Regions from separate parts of the Homo sapiens genome. Here region 2 is linked to region 1. The links are contacts of gene promoters, found by promoter capture Hi-C in blood cells and fetal thymus (Javierre and others, 2016). All regions are on one chromosome and are shown on one strand. Each heading gives the region's core, a stretch centred on a gene start or on the middle of the fragment in contact. The rest is flanking DNA. Distances are from core to core; before and after follow the strand shown. Region 1 holds the start of GRM5-AS1 (GRM5 antisense RNA 1). Region 2 has its middle 3.5 kb from the start of MIR3166.

What was found. The method cuts DNA at HindIII sites, captures the fragments that hold promoters and counts their contacts. A CHiCAGO score of 5 or more calls a contact.
Region 2: a contact is called between a fragment that was not itself captured here and the fragment with the promoter of GRM5-AS1 in region 1, in 2 of 17 cell types (activated CD4 T cells and monocytes). The highest score is 6.1, in activated CD4 T cells.

The regions. Positions count from the first base shown.
Region 1 is chr11:88,503,216-88,509,273 of GRCh38, reverse strand. GRM5-AS1 (GRM5 antisense RNA 1) reads right to left here and starts at 4,698. Exons shown (of 6, transcript NR_049724.1): 1 at 335-4,698. It overlaps GRM5 (glutamate metabotropic receptor 5), which reads left to right. Exons shown (of 10, transcript NM_001143831.3): 10 at 1-4,632. The coding sequence ends at 682. RefSeq lists a silencer at 1-21. The HindIII fragment of the contact is 8,959 bases long and covers 1-5,851 here.
Region 2 is chr11:88,176,727-88,183,368 of GRCh38, reverse strand. No RefSeq gene overlaps it. Among named protein-coding and RNA genes, the nearest start is that of MIR3166, 3.5 kb to the right of the region's middle. The HindIII fragment of the contact is 2,368 bases long and covers 1,672-4,039 here.

The sequences.
Region 1 (6,058 bases), core at 3,449-5,948:
CCCAGGCGGGCCCGAGTCCCCAGACGCCGGCCCCAAGGCGCTGTATGATGTGGCCGAGGCTGAGGAGCACTTCCCGGCGCCCGCGCGGCCGCGCTCACCGTCGCCCATCAGCACGCTGAGCCACCGCGCGGGCTCGGCCAGCCGCACGGACGACGATGTGCCGTCGCTGCACTCGGAGCCTGTGGCGCGCAGCAGCTCCTCGCAGGGCTCCCTCATGGAGCAGATCAGCAGTGTGGTCACCCGCTTCACGGCCAACATCAGCGAGCTCAACTCCATGATGCTGTCCACCGCGGCCCCCAGCCCCGGCGTCGGCGCCCCGCTCTGCTCGTCCTACCTGATCCCCAAAGAGATCCAGTTGCCCACGACCATGACGACCTTTGCCGAAATCCAGCCTCTGCCGGCCATCGAAGTCACGGGAGGCGCGCAGCCCGCGGCAGGGGCGCAGGCGGCTGGGGACGCGGCCCGGGAGAGCCCCGCGGCCGGTCCCGAGGCTGCGGCCGCCAAGCCAGACCTGGAGGAGCTGGTGGCTCTCACCCCGCCGTCCCCCTTCAGAGACTCGGTGGACTCGGGGAGCACAACCCCCAACTCGCCAGTGTCCGAGTCGGCCCTCTGTATCCCGTCGTCTCCCAAATATGACACTCTTATCATAAGAGATTACACTCAGAGCTCCTCGTCGTTGTGAATGTCCCTGGAAAGCACGCCGGCCTGCGCGTGCGGAGCGGAGCCCCCCGTGTTCACACACACACAATGGCAAGCATAGTCGCCTGGTTACGGCCCAGGGGGAAGATGCCAAGGGCACCCCTTAATGGAAACACGAGATCAGTAGTGCTATCTCATGACAACCGACGAAGAAACCGACGACAAATCTTTTGGCAGATTTTCTTCTAGTGGCCTTAGAAAACATGGGCTTTTAAGAAACACGGCTGATATCTTTGAGGGCTGACAAGGCGTCTCTTCAAACAGTTCCATACCAAGTGCTTTGCTCTAGGGAAGCAGTGCGTGTGAAACAGCGTAACGGAGGGTGAAGAGCATAGTTAATAAGCAACTGTAAAAAGTTTTATTTGTTTACTTTAATTCTTTTCCCAGAAGAGTCTTTGATTCACCAAACATGAATGTACATTTTCTAACAAACTCAAAATCTGGGACCAAAACATCAACTTTTTTCTTTCTTTTTTCTTTCTTTTTGTTTTTTCTTTCCTGTAAAGACCTTGAAAAGCAGTAACTTGGGTCCAGTATTTACGGAGGCGTTGTGAATGTGTCCCATGCATAACACACTACTGGATAGTGAGTGCTGCGCTAATGTACTACGTAGGGCTTCTACCAGAGATTTTCCTCTCCAATTGGGTTGTGAAATACTCTTCCAAAAGCCTGCATCGGGGATTCCACCTACTTATTTCAGATTCACCTCCATTAACCAAGAAAACCAGTGGAAGATTTCTTGACTATTTCACCATGTTGCCAATCAATACTGGAGTAGCAAAAAAAATATTTTCTGGAATACTGTTTTGTAATTCCCTCACTGGGGTGCATTGTAGCTGGAAATTCTCTTTATAAAAATCATTCTTGAGCTCCAGCCTGGCTATCTCTTTCAAGAAACATGGCCACTCTTTAGGAATGCTGTTGCGTTTGCATTGCCAACTAAAATATTAAAATATGCATTGGGGCTTCTTCATTCCTTTATTTTGAGAACCTGATGCACAAAGAGCTCCTTTGTTCTTTTCGAGTCCCACCACTGGAAGAGTGGTCCATAGACCCCATGAAGACATTGTCATGATTTGAGAGACTGTTGTTGAAAGGATTAACACAATCTTAATACACTGAAAATTTTAACTGTGTCAAGTCAGCTTAGTGGAGATTTAGCTATGCCAGTGAGCAGTGATTTTAACTATTCTTGGCTGCTTAAACAGGGCAGCTATGAACTATGACAAATGTAGATTTTTCAAAGCAATACAAAATACTAAAAAAGAGGAACCTTAATGAATATTAACCACACAGTCTTTCTTAGCCATTCCAAAAAGAGGCAAAGCAATTCTTATTTTCTTTTTTAAAATAATGATTAATATGATTTTGTGCACTTCATACTGTCACTTTTTAAAACTACAGAAAAGAGATTTAGAGTATAACAGAAACAAGTGTGCTTTGATAGTCTCAAATAGGTAGAATTCATAGTTCAAGACCTGAATCCACTGTCATCTCTTTCTTCCTCCCATTGCAGCTATCCTCAGGTACCAAATGTTTTGATTTTTAAATAAGGATAGTAATAAATGGAGGAGGTGTCCTATAAATTTAAAGTTCAGTTGACCCAGCCTTATACTTAAGATAGCCTTATGAAAAATATGTGCTGTGAGGCAGAAGTATATTTTGGCAGAGAGAATAATAAATAAAACTTTTTCTTTTAGCTCAATATCCTTACTTTGGTAAGTATTTTTTTTTATTTCACATCTACTTAACAGAAAATAAACTGAGAAATAGAAGTCAGTCCATTGGCATAATTTATCATTCTTCACTTTAAAAAATTCTAATAAATATTCTGCTTGAGTTTTCTTTTCTGCTATTTGTTCTTACTTGCAACTTTAAGTCAAACCTCCCAATACAAAACATTAAAAGCTAACATTAATGTACTAAAGTATTAATTTAAAAGAAATCGAACCTCCCATGCTAGATTTGAAAATAACATCATCACAGCACCCTGATCCCAAATATTACACCGAGGCTTTTAAAATGTAAGTGAAATCTAGCTAAGTTTCATGGTTTCATTAAAAGCAAATGTCTGCCTCTATCTGAAAAACAAATGGAAATCTTTTGAGGTGTTAATACCCTTTGGATCCTCATCAAAAGGATGGCATTCACCTGAGGATTCCTATCTTGACTTCTTAGGTATTAAAAACCTTTCTTGATATGCTCTACATTTTAAAATTTGTTTTATAAAATCCTTATGTTGATTTTCATTTTATTCTCAAGTACAATACGTTTCACTCTAGACCAGTTGAAGAACATGTTTAAACTTTGTTCATGGTCAAATTCATTTTCTATTTTTTTAGTAACATATCTCTTAAAAAGCACACTACCTTATAAAAAACTTCATCAGAAATTAAATTTAATGCAAGTAAATTGCCATCTGATACTTCCACATGCTATCATAATCAACTGTAATAATAAAAATGATTTATCCAATTAGAAAAGGACAAGATATATTTTTCTCTGTATTTCTATAACTTTTGCCACTCCATTGAATACATTGTATGTTGGACATAAGATTATTAGTAATGCATTCTTGAGATCTTTTATTTTGGAATGATGCTAACTCTGTCTCTTTGCCAATTCTAATACCAGGTTCCAAGTAATAACTCTACAGTACAAAGAGAACTGAATATTCATTCTAGGGCTATAGGATATGAACTTCACAATTCATTTGGGTACATTCTCATTGAATTTCCTTCAAAACAATCTGTTCCTGGTGCCCAGTGATAATTCAGTCGGGACCAGCATGACTAAAAGGAAGGGGATATGCTAAGGCTCAGCAAAGTGACCCTAAATGAGAGATATGTCCCAGGATGGAAAGAAGAAGACGTGGTTTAACCAAGTTATACTGACTAATCTAAGCAGTCCACTCATCCTTCCATTTTGGGAAAGGAGTGGGGGCAGCCTAAGAAGAACATATCTGGATTGGGAAGAACCGTCTTTCTGGGCTAGGGATGGGGAACAGAAAGGGAGTATGGAAAGAAAAATTATAAGAGATTTGACTGAAGCAAGGAAAAAAAGCAAATCCCCAAACGTGCTAATCCTTGAAAGTAACTATCTTTCCCAAACTACTGCTGTTACCAGCAAGTGATCAGGAAGACTAGGAGCTATTTCTGACTGTAAATGAATTGTATAATAGCTCTGCTGCAGTTCTGTGACTTCCAAGCCAGGAATTAAATGCTCTTTTTAAGAATAACAAAAAACAAAAGCATTTCCTATGCTAGTCTCCCAGTAAAATGTACATGTTTTGGAGACTTCAAAGGTATTATGTGAGTTCACATTTAGCAACAGCTTATTAATAACCCTCAAGCTGTCAGAATCTCTATAGTTACCATTTACAATTTTATACTGTGAAAAAATACAGATCAGTGAAAGCATAAAGACAAGTCAGAATTCACTTTGAAGAGGGTCTGAGGCCTGGGAGAGTCTCTACTGTCTATTGAAGAATGAGGCATGTATAAAATAGTTGGTTGAATTTCACTGATCTTCCCAATGTGAACAAATATACTATGTATATTGTGTGTATTTCTAGAAATCAATGGCAGCTGCTGATGGTGTTGTAATTAGAAATCTATATAGATTATAGATGTTTTAGAAAGATGGTGCCAATCCTAAAAGATTTGTGTGGGCTAAAAGTGCTTGTACTTACTTTTTTCTGCACTTATAACTGATTTGGTTTTAAAATTGTGTGCGTGTATCTGTTCTTTCTCTGTTGTGGCAGCTTGTACTATTAAAATAATAGAGAATGTTAAATTATTTTGATGTGAACTGCAAATGATTTTTTTTCATAAAGTTTAACATTTTTATCAGCATTGTTTTGCTTTGTACTTGTATAAATATGTTTTATTTTAGCACTTCAAAATATACTTGCCTGTTTCTCAGTTGTCTAAATCATGTTGTACTTGGTGTTTGTGAAGCCAGTTACTTTTCAAAAAAATTAAAAAACCTATAATATGATTTTAAGATTATTCCCCTCAAATGTTTAGAATGTTGTCTTAATAGTGTTTTCTGAGATGAAAAGAGCCATGATACTAATTAATCTTGAATACTGGATGATCTATACATTTGAATTATGGGGTTTACAAAGTAAGCAGTGGACTGTATAGATTTAAATGAAAATATAAACCAACCACAAACCAACCAGAGATGTTGTCCCCAAACACATCTACAAACAACTGTTACATAAAGAAGTACTTAAAAAAATATATAGGAAATATGCATTGTTTATGCATCTAGACATACAAATTATAGAAATAGTTTCATAATTATATGTGTTGATAGAGGTAACATCACACAGATAAAATAGATTATTTGTGTGTGTATAGATGTGTGTTTACAAACATACATATTTATATAGACATTTGACTTTTGAGTCCATCTGCATGTGTCTCTGTGTATATGTGTGTTTGTGTGTAGATGTATGTGCATATTACATAATTTTTCCAGAAAAAAAAAAAGTTTTACTTTGACTGATTCTTGAGCAAATATACATTCCCTGGACACAAATTAGTGAAAAACTAACAGCAGAATATAAGGTAGATGCTTGATGTATGGAAGAGAAAAACAAGGTATATTTAAAAATATATTTGATTTATGCTTCTGACATTGTATTAAATGCATAATGATATATATACATATGTAGATACATATATTATACAGAATGTGTTTGATCTTAACAAAGAAAGCCATTTTATCTGTTTTGTCAGACTCTTCCCTTCAGTATCTTTTATTCTAACGTGATATGAATGGTAATATGTTCACATAAAATTGAGGATGAAGTGACATATACAAACCAGGTACAGGAAATTACCTTCTAAAAATCCAAAGAGCCTTATCAGACTCCATCAAATTATGGAAGGCCATTTAAAACCAGCGGATGCAATAGAAATAGCATTGAATTAAAAGCCAGGATCTCTTACCTGTCACCAACTGACTTTGGATAAATCACTCTGATTTCTCTACAACTTGTTCCTCTTGCTTTAAATGCAGAAGTGAGTTACAATAATCTGTGAAGTTTCTATCATTTCAACATTCCTGATAAATGCTCAATAGTAGCTATTATTAGTGTCAATGTAGTATTTAGTATACAGTTAATATTCAGCAGGAAGCTTAAATTTGTTATATCAATGTTATTTGTGGAGCTTAACAAGTTCCTGTCCAACTTAAAGCATATATCCTGGAGGAAACCTATTGAGGTTTGAACTCATATGCAACCTTGGAACTGTCTATCAAGGACAACTTAGTAAATTGATATTGAACACCACAGAGAGAATGCTTTTCCTCTGTTATAATTGCTGCTGAATGCTGGCCAAGTTTT
Region 2 (6,642 bases), core at 1,606-4,105, 320 kb after region 1:
GCTGATAAGATTAGTGTGATCAGAATGAGAAAGGTTGGCTAGAAAAATACTGAAACCTAAAACACCCAGCACTTGGTGGCCAGACAGGAAACTTCATTGTCTCTACACACTGAATGCTGAAACCTGGAACAGGAGCCACTGGAAATCCTCATCCAAGACCTATTCAGTACACATTTGACTTTAACTTTGTTTTCTTCTTTTGATATCAATAACATTTCCATAAAAATGAAATGAATATAGAAAAGCAGGAAAATATATAAAAAAGAAGCAATAATCTCACTATCCAGAGATAAACTCTAATATGTGGGTACATAATTTTCTGTACCTTTTTTCCATCGACAATGTGTGCATGTTTGTGTAAAATGGAAATTATGTATTTTATGCTAAATTGGGGACTCTAACTTTTTGTGATTTGTTGACCTCCCATTTAAAAATGTTATGAAAAAAATTGTGAACATTTTTCCAGCTGCAATATTTTCTTCAACATTGTTTATAAAGGCTGTATAATGTGCCAGCACATACGTATACCATTACAATATTTAACCTCATGTGTATTTAGGGAGTTGTGAATTTTTGTTTTTATAAGCAACACTGCAATCGGAATTCTTAAAGCTAAATCGTCACATACATCTTTAGTGATTTCCTTACCATAAATTCCTAAAAATGGAATTAACAAAGGGCACATGCATTTTAAGGTTTTTGATACATATAACCACATTTCCCTTTAACAACTTTTTCTTATGTTAGTCCCACCACAGGATCATATGATAGTATCCATTTTTTACATTCTCATCAAAATTGGATATTTTTAGTACTAAAATATATTTGTCAATTTAAAAAGTAAAAAATGGTATTACATTATTGCTTAATTTTCATACTTTTATTACTATCCTAGTGAAAAATACACTTTTCACATTATTGGCTTTTTGTTTGTCTTGTGTGGTCAATTGCTTATTTATATCTTTATCTAATTTAGTGTTTAAAAAATTATTAGAACAATTTAATATAAGGTATATTTCCTTTTGCCTGTCTTAAATGTTGTAAAATTTTTCTCATTCTGAAAGTATCATTTTTCTTGCTTCTGGTAATTGTTAATGTCTACACGTTTAGTTTTTTTTTTTTCCTTTTATTATTTCTGCCTTTCACATAATATTCAAAGGTCCTTTCTCCACAATAATAATGCATAAATATTCACCTTTTTGTTATAATAGTAATTTTGTGAAGTAGTGGAAATGCTGTCAGGAATTTGTCTGAGATGGGTAACAAAGAGAGAGGAATCAAGAGTGACTGAGTTTTTGAGCTTGGTAGACTTTGGTGAGGGTGGAACCACTGACCAAAAACCAGGAATACAGGAAAGGGAACAAGTCTGTTAGGGTAGATAATGAGTTCAGTTTTGCACATGTTGCATTTAAACTGTCTGCCAGAAAGCCTGGTAGAAATGCCCAACGGGCAGTTGGAACAAGTTTATGGAATGCAGGAGTAAGGTTGTGTTTTAAATACAGATATAGAAATCATCAGCAGACATTTGATAGTTTAACAACATGTTCTTTTCAGTGCATATCCTGGGCCAAGCACTATGCTAAGCACTTCACAGAATTTTATTTGGTCTTCTCAAAAAAAAAATAGGAGGTTAAAATTATTATCCTCATTTTATACATGAAGGGACAAGCTTGCAAAAGTTAAACTACTTTACAAAGTTCTTATGACTGGGTAGTGGTAGAACTTGAATGTGAAATCAGGTAAGCTCACCTGATTCCAGAGTTCCTAACCCCATTTGCTCTATTGTCACAGGAGTAGATGAGCTCAAGCAGGGAAAGTCAGAGTCCCAAGGATGAAGAATAGCAAACTTTAGTGGATGGGCAGAAAAGAAGGGAAGTTGTGAAGGAGTCTAAGAAGGTCAGAGTGGAAGGCAGAAGGTCATGTGTATACATGCTGATGCTTTAACCAGAATGGAAGCATTTTTGATGGCAGGGACTTATATCTTATACACTCTTTGAGATAAACGTGAGACCTTTCTTCTGACCCTGATCCTCAAAAAACTCTGTTACAATGCTTTGTACATAAATATTTCTTCGTTTATGCTGTGATGGTCTGTCAGTAATTTTCTTGCGTTAACCTTCTGAGCTAGACCCTACCAGTCTCTCTGTCATCACCCATTATGGAATAGGGGTTCATTCACTGTACAGCCTCAGTACTATCCTATCGCCTTCTCTGAGAGCAACAGAAGTAGATTCCTTGTATATGCTCTCTATGTGCACTGGGTCAGACCTCTCCCCACAAATGCACAGCATGCCACTTTTACTTGTGTTGACTTTCTGCCCGAGTTGGTGAGAGATTATGGGATATATCCTTTTATCTTTGAATCATAGATTTTTCTTTTCTTCCTTTATTGGCTGTTTCCCTGCATAGTTAAGACTTTATCAAATGGAAATAGAATCAATCTCTTTTCTTTATAGCCTGAATATTTAGTAGCATAGCAGAAACAAAGCTACAGTAGAAGCCTGGACCTGGAATTTATCACATGCTAAAGGAGTGTGGTATAGTAGAAAAAGCACAGATTTAGGAATTACTGGTTACGATTCTCATGCTGTCACTCCATATCTGTGACTTTGGAAAAATTATTTAAATTCTTTGAGCCCTATTTCCCTCATTATAAAGTGAAGATACTTGCTACAGAGTGGTCGTGAAGATCAAATAAACTTACCAAGATAAAGGGCTTAGCTCATTGTAGGTTCCCAGGATAAGGAAGTTGAAATTCTAGTACATACAGAATCATTTTTCTCCATGTTCTCAGATGCTTGCCTTTCGGCCATTCCATAGCTTATTTCCACTCATCCATGTTAGATGTGTTAGTAGAAAAATACACCCCGATTCAGCCATGCCTGTCTGGCACAGCTAAGGCACATAATTTTAGTTGGTGATAAATACACTGCTGAAAATGGTTTAGGTCATACTCTGGTTTTCTTGATTCATACTACTGGTGGGTTAAAAAATGCACTTACAATCAGTTTCTCATGATAACCCGTAAATATCCTATTGTAGTCTTTTTTTTTCTGGAAAAAAATCTAGCCAGAAATTTCTCATAGACTGAAGAGTATTTATTTCAAGAACATCCCATACAGAATCCATCTTGGCCTCTCTCCAAATAACCCAAAAGTTGCTTCCTACTTCTAGACATCTGCTGCAATCCTGAATCAATACTAGATGACTCAAATTGCAAGTTAGCACAGGTTTCAGACAAGCCTAGTGGGTAAAGAGAGAACTTTTTGAAGACAAGAAAGAAATAAGCTGCAACTTTAACTTGGCAGACCTATTTATTAAAATTGTGGTTTAGGAGAATTTTCCAAAGCCCCTATAGCTGTAGATCTCATTTGAGAGCCTCAACTTCTCCCTCTTCTTTAGGAATGAATATTCTTTAGGAAAGTCCTGGCTTGTTCCTGTTGTTTGGTGTAATTATTCATAGTGCCCCCTTTCACTCTCAAGAGTCATAGTTTGAATGATAAAATATATGGTCATTTCTTCCAGGCCTTTTGCAGAGTAAAATTCATCTGTTGTAAGATATATTTCTTGTATTAATCTAAGAAAAATTAGATTACCTTTTCTATAACAGAGCCCTTGGGACCCCATCTTGCAGTCATTTACATATTTCTTCAGAGCAATAATTAAAAGCTCACATAAGCTAATGAATAACTCCCCATGGCTCTCTTAATGGCAAAAGCAAATAATGTGACTTCACAGGGGCTCACCAAACACAGCAGCTCTAGGAGGAAAACATGAGGGTTTGTCCCTTCAAGTTTACATTTGCAAAGCAATTTGCAATCATTGTAGTTTTTCCATTTCATAAGACTAAGTACCCACATTGGACAGAAAGGGAATGGAGACTAAGAGAAACCTAATGCTGTGCCTTCTGGGATATCATTCTTGGCTTGAATTCTGAGCACTTTGTGGTCTCACACACCTTTTACAAACTTGAGTCATCAGCCTTCCCGACCTTGGTGAGAAGATGTGCTGTGGTTTAGCAATTTGAGGGTAGTAAGCTTGTCAAAACATCACCAGAGATGTTTTGAGAATTACTGTGGAGAACAGGTTTCCATGGTGCAGTGTGGCTGCTGGGAGGGGGACGAATGGCACAGCTGTTCTCTCCATGGGGAGGAAGCACTGGATCTTTTGTGTCAGAAAAAGCTGAGATCCTCCTGATAATCCTAAGCCATCTTGACAGGTATATGTTCAGGTTGGGGAAGATAGGTTCTGAAGAAGCATCATAATTGCAGGGGACAGGGTTGAATGAAAGAGGAGGCAAGAATGGTCTAGCTGCTTGATAATATCCTTTCCATCTATTCACTGTCTGGCTTGATCCAGTTTATAGTTTGTCCCTGGCTACCTGGCTCCCTGTCTGCAGCCTAGTTCTGAGTGTAGAAAATAAGTTCAAAGCAAGGAAGGGGAGTACATGAAGGTTTGTCCTCCAAAAAGAATGTTCTTGGATTGCCTTTGTCTTGTGGGAAAATGTACAGCAGCAGAGGAAAGAATAGCACCATGAAACCAGAGGAGAACTATGGCATCATGTTTGCTTTGAGATGGCCTTTCTTCCAAACCTAAAAGAGGAGAGAAAACATCACCTCTTTGGCAGTGGTGCTCTTGTGGGGTGACTAGAATCAGCTAGGGTGTCACTCCTACTAGACAATGTCTAGAAGACCCAGAATTCTGATATTTTAGAGTCCAAAGGACTTTCCAGAGATCTTGCAACCTAACTCCCTCATTTTACCCAAGGGACTTTCAGGTTCAGAGACCTAGGCGCCTTTTACGAAGATTTTACTGAACTGCTAGGCTGGGGTGCTTACCAAGCTACTGTAATCTAAAAGTCTTAAAAATATAAACCGAGAGTAATTTCTTCCCACTGTGAAGAATGATCATGAGACCTAAATGAGTACGGCTGGAAACAAAACTGCACATACTTCCTGCCTGGCCAAGGAACTTGCTCACCATGGTTGGCTGCTGTCCCTGAGAGAGGAATCTCCTACCCCCAGAGAGGCAATAAAACTGAAGCTTCAGGACCCCTTCCAAGGCCCTAGACCTAATTATATATTTTTGATTTTGCATTCTTTTGCTCAAAAAGCTACTTCCTCCAATTTTATCAGCTTCAGGACCAGAAATCCTGAACTTTGCCCTGCCTGTCCTACCTCATAAATCCAAATGTCTGATGTTCCAATATGCTCTTGCTCAAAAGAGAACAGATAAGGGTGAGGATGACTCTGCCGGGACCAGGCTTGGGAAAACAGTACGGGGCTGGTAAGAAAGTTGGGTTGGGTATAATTTTGAAGGCTGGCCCACAAGATGTCTCAAACTCCTACCTTGTTTCTACCCCAGGAGCTTGTTGGCCAGACAAAGCCTGTCTCTCAGATTTACAGACCCAGGATTTTAGAGCTGGCAAAGGTCTCATTTTGTCATCCTCCCTAATTTTGCAGGCATTTAGAATGGCTTAAGCATCTTGGGCTACTGAATTCCCCTCCCTGGGAAGTGAGGTGACATTGTTGGCTAATTCTTTAAGCAGGTAGAGTATTTGTCTCACTTGTTAGATGTGATCTTCTTGGTGTGTCCTCGCATGGGTGGAAACCAGTAAATGAGGCCTACCCAGCTAAGCACTTCAATAAAACACAAACGACTGCAATTCTACACACTGTCACTTAGTGTCCATTCTGAGCAAAACTTCTGAGTTACTCTCTGAGGAAAGATGAAACTGCACAGGACAGTGCCTGTGGACAGTATTTTAAGCTTGTCCCTCATTTCATAGTAATAGCTACAATTTATTTACCACCTACTATGGACCCAGCATTTTATCAACAATTTCATTTGTATTTATTTATTTATTTATTTATTTATTTATTTAGAGATAGAGTCTTGCTCAGGTTACCCAGGCTGGAGAGCAATGGTGTGATCTTGGCTCACTGCAACCTCTGCATCCCTGGTTCAAGATAGTCTCCTGTCTCAGCCTCTCAAGTAGCTGGGATTATAGTCACCTGCCACCACGCCCGGCTAATTTTTGTATTTTTAGTAGAGACGGGTTTCACCATGTTGGCCAGGCTGGTCTTGAACTCCTGACCTCAAGTGATTCACCCACCTCAGCCTCCCAAAGTGCTTGGATTACAATCATGAGCAACCATGCCCTGCCATAGGTATTATCATTCTCCTTTCGTTGATGTGGAAACCAAGGCTCAGAGGTTATGTGACTTGTCCCGGGTACACATCTTCAGCATCCCTCTGCTTGTTTGGGGCATGTGGAGGCTAAAGTTTAGGGAGTGTCAGGCCAGAAGAGGAAGGCAGAAAGACAATGGCCTTGCCAAACCTCCTTTCTCCCTTTCACACAGGCCTGTGTTTAAGTCCTAGTTCTAACACATACTAGTTATGTGTGCCCTTGAGAAAGCTGCTGTTAATCTTGGTTTCCTTATTTATAAATTGAAGAAAATAACCCACTTCATAAAGCAATTGAGAAGATGAAATGATAGAATGTGAGCAGAGCTCCTTCACAGCACATTCAGGTACAAAATAGCTCATTTTGGTATAAACTGCTCACCCCCTAGCCCTGAATGCCCAATTTCTCATTTTCTTTATGTCTTTACTAAATTGTCTCCATCTTACTGAAACCTT